Regions from separate parts of the Homo sapiens genome. Here all the other regions are linked to region 3. Evidence: promoter capture Hi-C in human tissues and cell types (Jung and others, 2019). All regions are on one chromosome and are shown on one strand. The core of a region is centred on a gene start or on the middle of the fragment in contact, and the rest is flanking DNA. Distances in the headings are between cores, read along the strand shown.

Region 1 (2,700 bases), core at 149-2,648, 250 kb after region 3:
AGCAGCGGAGGTGTGGCAGACCCAGGTGTCTCCCTCCCTGGACATGCACACTGTCCCCACACACTGTCTGCGGGGACCACACTGCACTCTATGGAGGGGTCTGCCTGCGCTGACTTAGAACTACGCCAGGATCACGCTGGGGAGCCTGCCAGCCACATGGCTGTACAGGTGTGTGATTAAATGAAGGGGTCATCTTCGTTTTCTCCGCTTCTACATGGCTTCAGTTGTATTCGTTTACACAAGTGCGTGCTGCTGTTTTTCTGTTGTATTTTGAAAGCACACAGAGGCTCCTTCTCTTCCCAGGAAGCTGTGCTGTGGCTCGCCGGCCAGGCCCCACCCTTTGGGAGAGCCCTGCTCTGACTGCTAGAAGCCAAGCCCCTCTCCGGGGAAAGCAGAGGAGGGCGGTGGTCTCTGTGGGTACCTGCGGCTAACAGCCTGGCCAGGACAGGGACCTGGCCCCCTCTTGCCCCTGTACACAAGGGCGGCCAGTCCTCATGTGAGACTCGTGGCCCCAGAGCAGGCTGGAGCATCCTAGGGACATGGACACCCTGGGTTTGCCTCTTACTGTTGGGTCCAGCCATGACAAGGGTGTGCTCTAGTTCATGTTAATATAAGGTGACCCCCAGCCCCTAACACCCCTCCTCCCCCAGCACAACACCAAAACCCAGGGCACCCACCTGGCAGCCACCACCCCTCTCCCCCTGCCACGGTGCTGGGTCTCAGTCCTCCAAGGCCATGCCCACAGCGGCCGCCCCCGCAGGCCTGAACCAGGGCATGCTGGGGCCGATGCCGCAGCCCCACCCACAGGCAGTGGAGAGTGCTGTGGTGGGAGTGCTCACACCTGAGACACAGCCAACACTATGGGTCGGGATTTCCTCCCTGAGAGCCAGCTCCCAGCTCACCACAGGTGGGAATGGGCCACACAGCACAGAGCAGTACTGGCCACTGAGCAAACGCCCCCTCCACACCATGGCCACAACCACCATCGCCTCCACTGCCCCAGCTAGACCAACAGGCAGTCTGCCAGTACCAGGCTCCACATGAACCGCTCCCACCCTCCTCATCCAGTCACGGTTCCTCTTGGAATGGCCCTGGGTGGGGCAGTGCTGAAAAGGATGGACCCAGGCTCCACTCTGGAGGCCACTCTTCTCTTGGCCAGCTCCAAGCATCGTGCCCTGGGTTCCAGAGCCCACCAAGGCACCTGGGGAGACGCCCCAAGGGCTGAGACAGGGCCACGGGGGGCTCGCCCACTTCCTGCGCAGCCAGAGAAGCCATCCTCCCAGCTGGGCACAGGGCCTCCAGTGTCTCCGGGCACAGGGCCTCCAGCGTCTCCGGGCACAGGGCCTCCAGCATCTCTGGGCACAGGGCCTCCAGCGTCTCTGGGCACCCCTCTGCTGTGTCCAAGAAGCCCCTCAGCCTGTGCACTGCAGATCCCGGGGGGAGTCACCAGAGTTACCAAGAAGCTAGAGGATGACACTGCAAGCCCTGCATGCTGGCACCCTGCCCTCTGCAACAGAAACAGCCATCAGGCCACCTCCCAGCACCACCAGGGCCCTAGGACAACCCCCTCCCAGCACCCACCTCCAGAATGCAAACCAGGAGCTCTCATGTGTGCCCTGTGCGGGGCTGACTCAGCCCACCCGAAGGGGAAGTGCAGCCCCAAAATGGACAGGCCATGAGGACGGGGATGCAGTGCCCACACCTGCCTCTCAGGTGCTGTCCTCCCCCTGGGACAGCTCTGCATGACCTTCACGCCCACCTTCCCAGGCTGCAGGCCTCACCGTGGGCATCGCCACCAGGCTGTCAGACCCTCTGAGAATGCAGAGACAACAGTCCTTTCAGCATCTGCTCCTCGAGAATGATGTAGAGGACGCACGTATCCCCACTGTCCTGGGGTTCCCAGATGGTGTAGGGGAGGCCCAGCCCCTAAGGGCCAGGCTGAGGCCCATGTTTCCAGGGCGAGGACCCAGCCAGGATGGCTCAGCACTCTGCAGGAGTCAGACACTGGCTCCAGGTACCCTGACACTGCAAGCTGACATCTGATGCACCTGGCCACAGGTGTGCGACAGGTCTCAAAACAGTGGAGGTTAGAGACGGAAACCCTTTTCCACAATGCAAACCCAGAGAAAGCAGTAACTCAGGGACACTGTGGATTGTCCCATCTGTTCTGAAAGATGGAACACCACTGTTTCCTGTACTTCTTCAATTATCAGTAAACCGTTTCTGGTATATAGTTCTAAGATTTTTATCCACATGTGGACTCACGCATTCATAACCACAATCAGGACACGCGGCGGCTTACGTGGCCCCTCACACCCGTGCTGCTGTGCCCCCAGCACCCCGGGGATGGCTCCTCAGGGATGGGCCGCGGGAAGGAATCGCACCGCGCGGATCCTCCCGATCTGGGCCCCTCTTGCACGGAGGCCCCTGGGATGCAGTCACGTGGCAGACGTGTCGGAAGTCCACGGCTCCTCACTGCCCAGACACTGCCCCTGCAGAGATGGACATGGCGTGCTCATCTATTCACCTGTGTCCCTGCCAGCAGAACAGAGTCCCAGGTGGCCACATCCTGGCCAGCACCAGTGTCCCGACCGGCATGTGGGCAGGTGGACATGGGTCTGCCCATGGTTTCGGCTTGCCTTTCTCTAATTGCTAACAACACAGGATAGCCCCAGCTGCCATCCTTACACCCTCTTTGGC
Region 2 (2,848 bases), core at 295-2,794, 140 kb after region 3:
TCTTGTCCAGGCACAGGACACAGCCAGTGAGGCCGCCCCAAGCGCTGCTCGCTAGGACGACGCCCCTGTCCTGCCTCCCTACAGGGCCATCCCCAGATGAGGCTGCAGCATTGCCCCGTGTGCTCTCAGCTGGTGCCAGTGTTGTCTGGAACTGTCTGGACCTACCTGGAAACTGAGTGTGAGTGTTTGATTCCTCACTCCCCTGGTGGCTGGGAATTGCCCTGGAAGGCACTGGTGCTTGTGGAGGGAGAAATGGCAATGTCTGGGTGTGGGTGCTGTGGGCCTGGGTGCTGTGGACGTGGGTGCTGTGCACGTGGGTGCTGTGGGCCTGGGTGCCGTGGGCCTGGGTGCCGTGGACGTGGGTGCATGGCACAGATGGGCGGCCACCTGAACGAGTGGGAGGAGTGCAGTCCCAGGCCCTCCCAGAGACTGTGCCATAGTCTCCACCCCAAGTGACGGTGGAGGGATGCTGGGAACGGTAAGCTTTAATGCTTGGTGAATCTTGCATTGCCTCATTCATGACCGGTAGGTCACGTGGTCATCTGACACTTCCATCTCTTCCGAGGCCCAGTGGAAAGCCAGGAGCTGGGTCTCCAAAGGAAAATGGTTACTTTCAGAAGAGGGCATGATTTTTCTCCAAAACGCTGGGTGGCTGAGCTGGGATTCTTCTGAAGGGTTTGTCGGAAGCTCCACACGGCATCCCTGTCTGACACGGACCTGTTGTCACCGTCTGATTTGCTGAGACACGCGTGCAGAGGTGCCTGATGGCAGCCTGGACCTGCTACAGAGCCTTCTGCTGCTGTAGGCCCCTTCAAAACTGACAGCCTCGGAGGCTTCCATATGGTCGAAGCAGCCTGCTTCAATATGGTGCATGAGCTCTCTGGGGTCTAAAAAGGCCTACCAAGCAGCATTGTGCCACCTTCTTAGTGCAAAGAACAGGAAGTTGGGTCAAGTATCTTATTATTATTATTATTAATCATTATTGTTGAGACAAGGTCTCACTCTGTTGCCCAGGCTGGAGTGTGGTGGTGCCATCACAGCTCACTGCAGCCTTGAACTCCTGGGCTCAAGCGATCCTCCTGCCATGGCCTCCCAGAGTGCTGGGATGACAGGTGTGAGCCCATGCCTGGCTGGGGGCACATATCTTCATATATCCCAGACCACAGGATGTCTAGAAATTTCACTGAAATGACAGAATCCTTCATTTTGTGAGGTGCGTCTCCTACTATGGAGGCACGAAAGGGCCTTACTAAGACAGTTAGAGTATTTACTACTTCCTGCCACCAGGTCTGATCTCCATTACACCATCGGCATAGTGAACTGGCACTTTGTCCCATGGGATGGCCAGGACTGAGATGGTCAAGGGCCCTGAGGTCTATATTTTGACAAAGGGATGGACGATGGGCACAGTTCTGAGAAGCACGAGCCGGGGTGTATTGCTGTCCCTGCCAGGTGAAAGTAGCCTTCCCCTGTGGCTCAGCTGTTGTGTGTGGAAGGAAACGTTGGTCAGATGAGTTTCCTCATGGAAGCCATGGCTGGGTGTTCCATCACACGAGGTACATCTGGAGGGGCAGATGCAATTGGAGTCCCCACCCGATTGTGTTTGCAGCCATCCACAGTCACTCTCCAAAATCCACCTCTGTCCTTCACAGGCCAAAGAGGTGAAGCAAAACGATGTGATAGGAAGCTGAGATATCGGCTGGGCACAGTGGCTCACACCTGTAATCCCAGCACTTTGGGAGGCTGAGGCGGGTGGATCACCTGAGGTTGGGAGTTTGAGACCAGCCTGGTCAACATGGTGAAACCCTGTCTCTACTAAAAATACAAAATTAGCCGGGCATGGTGGCGCACGCCTGCAGTCACAGCTACTCGGGAGGCTGAGACAGGAGAATTGTTTGAACCTGGGGGACAGAGGCTGCGATGAGCCAAGATCACACCACTGCACTCCAGCCTGGGCGACAGAGCAAGACTCTGTCTCAAACAAACAAACAAAAAAAGAGGAATCCAGGATACCGTTGCCAGTATGCACTGTAAATCTTTCTCCTAGATTTCTCTGAAGAAGTCTGCAGCCCTTTGGCAGCGTGGCTGCAGATGGAAGGAAGGAAACAGTTCGCCCTGGAGAATGGCTAGGCAGCACCTCTGAGCCGAGCATCCCACCCGCTCTGACTGGCCCACAATCGTGGGGCCAGTGGTATCTCAGAGCCCTTCTGTAAGGAGGTCTGGTCCCCCGGCATTCAGGGGTTCTGAGCTGCTCAGTTCTGGGATATGGGGAAAAGCCAGGATTCTCCACCATGCTGGCTGACGCCATTTCTCTGTTCACCAGACCTACAGGGTTTTGTCACTTACAGTGATTGCCATGGTCTGAATGCTTGTGTCCTCCTCGAAAGGTAGGTATTGAAACCTAATCACCAAGGTGATGGTGTTGGGAGGTGGGACCTTCAAGAGGTGGCAAGGTCATGGGGGCAGAGCCCTCATAAATGGATTGGTGCCCTTATGAAAGGGGCCCATGGGAGCCTTGTTTGCCCCATGTACGGGTGCAGCCGGAAGTTGCTGTCTGAGAGGAAACTGGCCTCCACCAAACACAGCTGGCACCTTGGTCTTGCACTTCCAGCCTCCAGAACTGTGAGACATGTTTCTGTCATTTATAAGCCACCCAGATCTTTAATGATATTTTTGTTATGGTAGCCCAAACAGACTAAGACAGAGACCAGAGAACACTTTGGCAGGCTACTTACGTGTTTTAGTCCTGGGGACACTTCAATCAGTTAGACATTCCCCAAAGTCCTACAGGGTGAAGGACACAGTTGCTGCCCTGGCCCTGTCACCCATTGAGACCAGGACACCCCAT
Region 3 (2,700 bases), core at 126-2,625:
TCTCTGCCAACACTTCCTACTTCCTGTGTTTCTTGATCCCCGCCATCCTATTGAGCGTGAGACAGGTCAGAAGCTTTGAAGATGGGCTTTCGTCTTGTCCCAGAAATCCCACCTCTAAGAATTTAACTTCAGAAAGACAAACGCGGGGGAGCTGGTGCAGGGCCCGTGACGGGGACTGTGACGTAAATAAAACAACAGACCTGGACACCACCCTAGGGTCCCCATGGGGCCGGACGAGGCCACACCACCCGACCTGGTGCTTCCTGCCTGGCGTCTGCGCCACGGAGCATTCAGGACGCTGGTGACCAGGGAGCCAGGAGGTGGGAGCATCTGAGGTGCAGGTCACACGGGCAGGAGGTGTTTGCAAGAGGTATTGCAGCGCGGACGGAGTGTCCTGCAGATGACGCTGTCTGTCCTGTAGATGACGCTCGTCAAGGAGGTTTACCACATAGCCCCCAGGAAGCCCACCCGACACCAGCCGGAGGTGCTAGGCTTCTGCGGCTCCCACCTGGGGCAGGCGGAGGACCCCGGGCAGGTCCAGGACCCCCCGGAGCAGCTGCTTCCTCAACCCTGCCAGGGTTAATGAGGAGGCCCCAGAGTGAGGTGGAGGCCAAATGGGACTCAGGGCCGGAGCCTCTGGCCTGGCTGGATCAGGGCTGGCATTGGACAAGCGCAGCTGACTCCCGATGTGCATGGCCAGGAGACACTCTGGGCCTCAGTTTCCCCTTGAATGTGAACCTTGAAACAGATCAGCCCAGAGACCTCCCACGGTCTTCAAGGGGCTCTGGTCAGCTGGGCTGGGGTCTCTGGAAATAGAGCCTCCTCCAGGGACCCCCACAAGCCACCCAGACTGAGCATCCTGGCCATGTGCATGCCTGAGCTCAGCAGGAGCCTCCCGGCCTCCCCGTGGGCTAAGCAGTGGTGGGAGGGGAGCTCCAGCCTCGTGGGCCCTCCCCGGGCCTCGGGGACCCATGGTCAGTGGCTGGGGGTGCTGCCCAGAGGCTGGGATTCCCTTCCAGCAGGAGCCGCAGTGGGGCTGAGTGTGAGGCAGGCTGGCTGACCACTGTTTCCATGGACCCTGCGTCCAAGGCCAGCCCTGCCTTCCAGCGGCTTTGCCATCTAGGACGGGTGCCAGGTGGGGTAGGCCCTTCTCTCCCTTCCGATTCTCAGAAGCTGCTGGGGGTGGGGGCGTCCTGGGCCTCAGGGCACAGAGCTGCAAATCCTTCCTGATCCAGGCCTCTCCCCTGCCACAGCCCCTCCCCGAGAGCAAACACACGTGGCTGGAGCGGGGAAGAGCATGGTGCCCTGCGTGGCCTGGCCTGGCTTGGGGCCAAGGCTCCCTGCTACATAAGCTGGGGCCCCCAGGGGAGCAAGCACCCGGCCCGGCTCCCTCCCTGCCCGTCCCCGTCCCCCCACCCGTGCCAGCCCCCAGGATGGGTGCCCCGAGCGCGTGCCGGACGCTGGTGTTGGCTCTGGCGGCCATGCTCGTGGTGCCGCAGGCAGGTAAGAGCCCCCCACTCCGCCCCCTCTCGATGCTGTCTTCACGGCGGGGGTCTCTGCAGGTCGCTTGCCTGGGAGCTTCTCCTGCAGAGTGCACGGGCAGATCCCCCTACGACTCCCTGAGTGTCCTGGATGGGACCCTACCCGTCCCCAACACAGGGCTCTGGGGCCCCACGGGCTCACAGTGTCAGGAAACTCAGGGGCTGGCTTGGATGGGGTGTCCAGGAGAAGGTGGGCCCCTGACCGCAGGGCAAGGCCCCTGGGAGACCACCGAAAGGGTCTTGGTCTTGGGGGTGGGACAGGAGTGGGCAATGGGGGAGGGGGTCACAGCTGGGGGTCTCTCTGGAGCCCCATGAGGCCCAGGCATCAGAGTGAGCAGGGGCAGGCTTAGCGTGGACCCCTGTCCAGGACCGGCTCTACCCTTCACGACCTCCCTGGGGATCACAGCTGGCAGGGCAGGTGAGGGTACCACCCTCAAGGGTTGCACAGCCAGCCGCAAGAGCCCCGGCCTCAACCCACGCTCGACTCCCACGGCCCATCTGTGGGCATCTCATGCCGCACGGGCTGCCTGGCTCTCAGCCGAGCGTTTTCCCTCGTCTGCTGTCTCTTGGCCAGAGCCGCAGCATTAATACTTACTGTCAATAGAGAAAGATGCAGCCCCAGGGGCCACCGGGAGACACCCAGCCGGGCTGGCCATGAGGCTGCTGCAGCCCCTCCCTGCCCCGCCCTCCACCCCCTCCCAAGCTTGGGGTCTGGGCTGGGCAGGTGAGGCTCCCTGGGGTCTCTCTCCATCTGTGGAAGGGAGGCTGGGTGGTCAGCAGGGCTGGAGGCAGGGGGCTTCCCCCAGTGGCTCCCAGCCTGGGCCCGGGGGGAGCTGCGTCTGGCTGCAAGGTTTGGGGGCTGGTTTGACCAGAATAGCCACCTCCTTGCATCTGATTCTTCCGGGCCATGCAGCCTTGGCTCCCCTCACCTGAGCAGGCAGGGCCTAGGGACTCTCAGCCCACCCGTCCTCCTGTCCTCCACGCACGTCCAAGTTGGGGAGATCAAGCCCTTGGCAGGGACTGTGCTTTAGTCACCAGATGCACGTCCTGTGGCCGGGGAAGGCAGCCCTGCACAGAGCAGCTTCATGTTAGGGGACACACCCCAAAGTGATGGGGTGGCTGGTGGTGGGCACTTCTCTGGCTACAAGATGGAGGCCCA

What was found. Contacts are between HindIII fragments. The study calls those that stand out against the background at their distance.
Region 1: a contact is called between a fragment that was not itself captured here and the fragment with the promoter of MUC5B in region 3, in 2 of the 25 tissues and cell types used here (dorsolateral prefrontal cortex and spleen).
Region 2: a fragment that was not itself captured here is called in contact with the fragment with the promoter of MUC5B in region 3 in 2 of the 25 tissues and cell types used here (IMR-90 fibroblasts and dorsolateral prefrontal cortex).

Annotation. Positions count from the first base shown.
Region 1 is chr11:1,471,519-1,474,218 of GRCh38, forward strand. The region is part of intron 3 of MOB2 (MOB kinase activator 2); the gene reads right to left. Among named protein-coding and RNA genes, the nearest start is that of MOB2, 14 kb to the right of the region's middle. The HindIII fragment of the contact is 6,097 bases long and covers 1-2,700 here.
Region 2 is chr11:1,360,631-1,363,478 of GRCh38, forward strand. LINC02689 (long intergenic non-protein coding RNA 2689) reads left to right here. Exons shown (of 5, transcript XR_930972.2): 2 at 85-178; 3 at 2,048-2,217; 4 at 2,324-2,387. Among named protein-coding and RNA genes, the nearest start is that of LINC02689, 12 kb to the left of the region's middle. The HindIII fragment of the contact is 4,928 bases long and covers 1-2,848 here.
Region 3 is chr11:1,221,691-1,224,390 of GRCh38, forward strand. MUC5B (mucin 5B, oligomeric mucus/gel-forming) reads left to right here and starts at 1,376. Exons shown (of 49, transcript NM_002458.3): 1 at 1,376-1,503. The coding sequence starts at 1,434. RefSeq lists enhancers at 1,217-1,914, 1,915-2,610, 2,611-2,700. The HindIII fragment of the contact is 6,998 bases long and covers 1-2,700 here.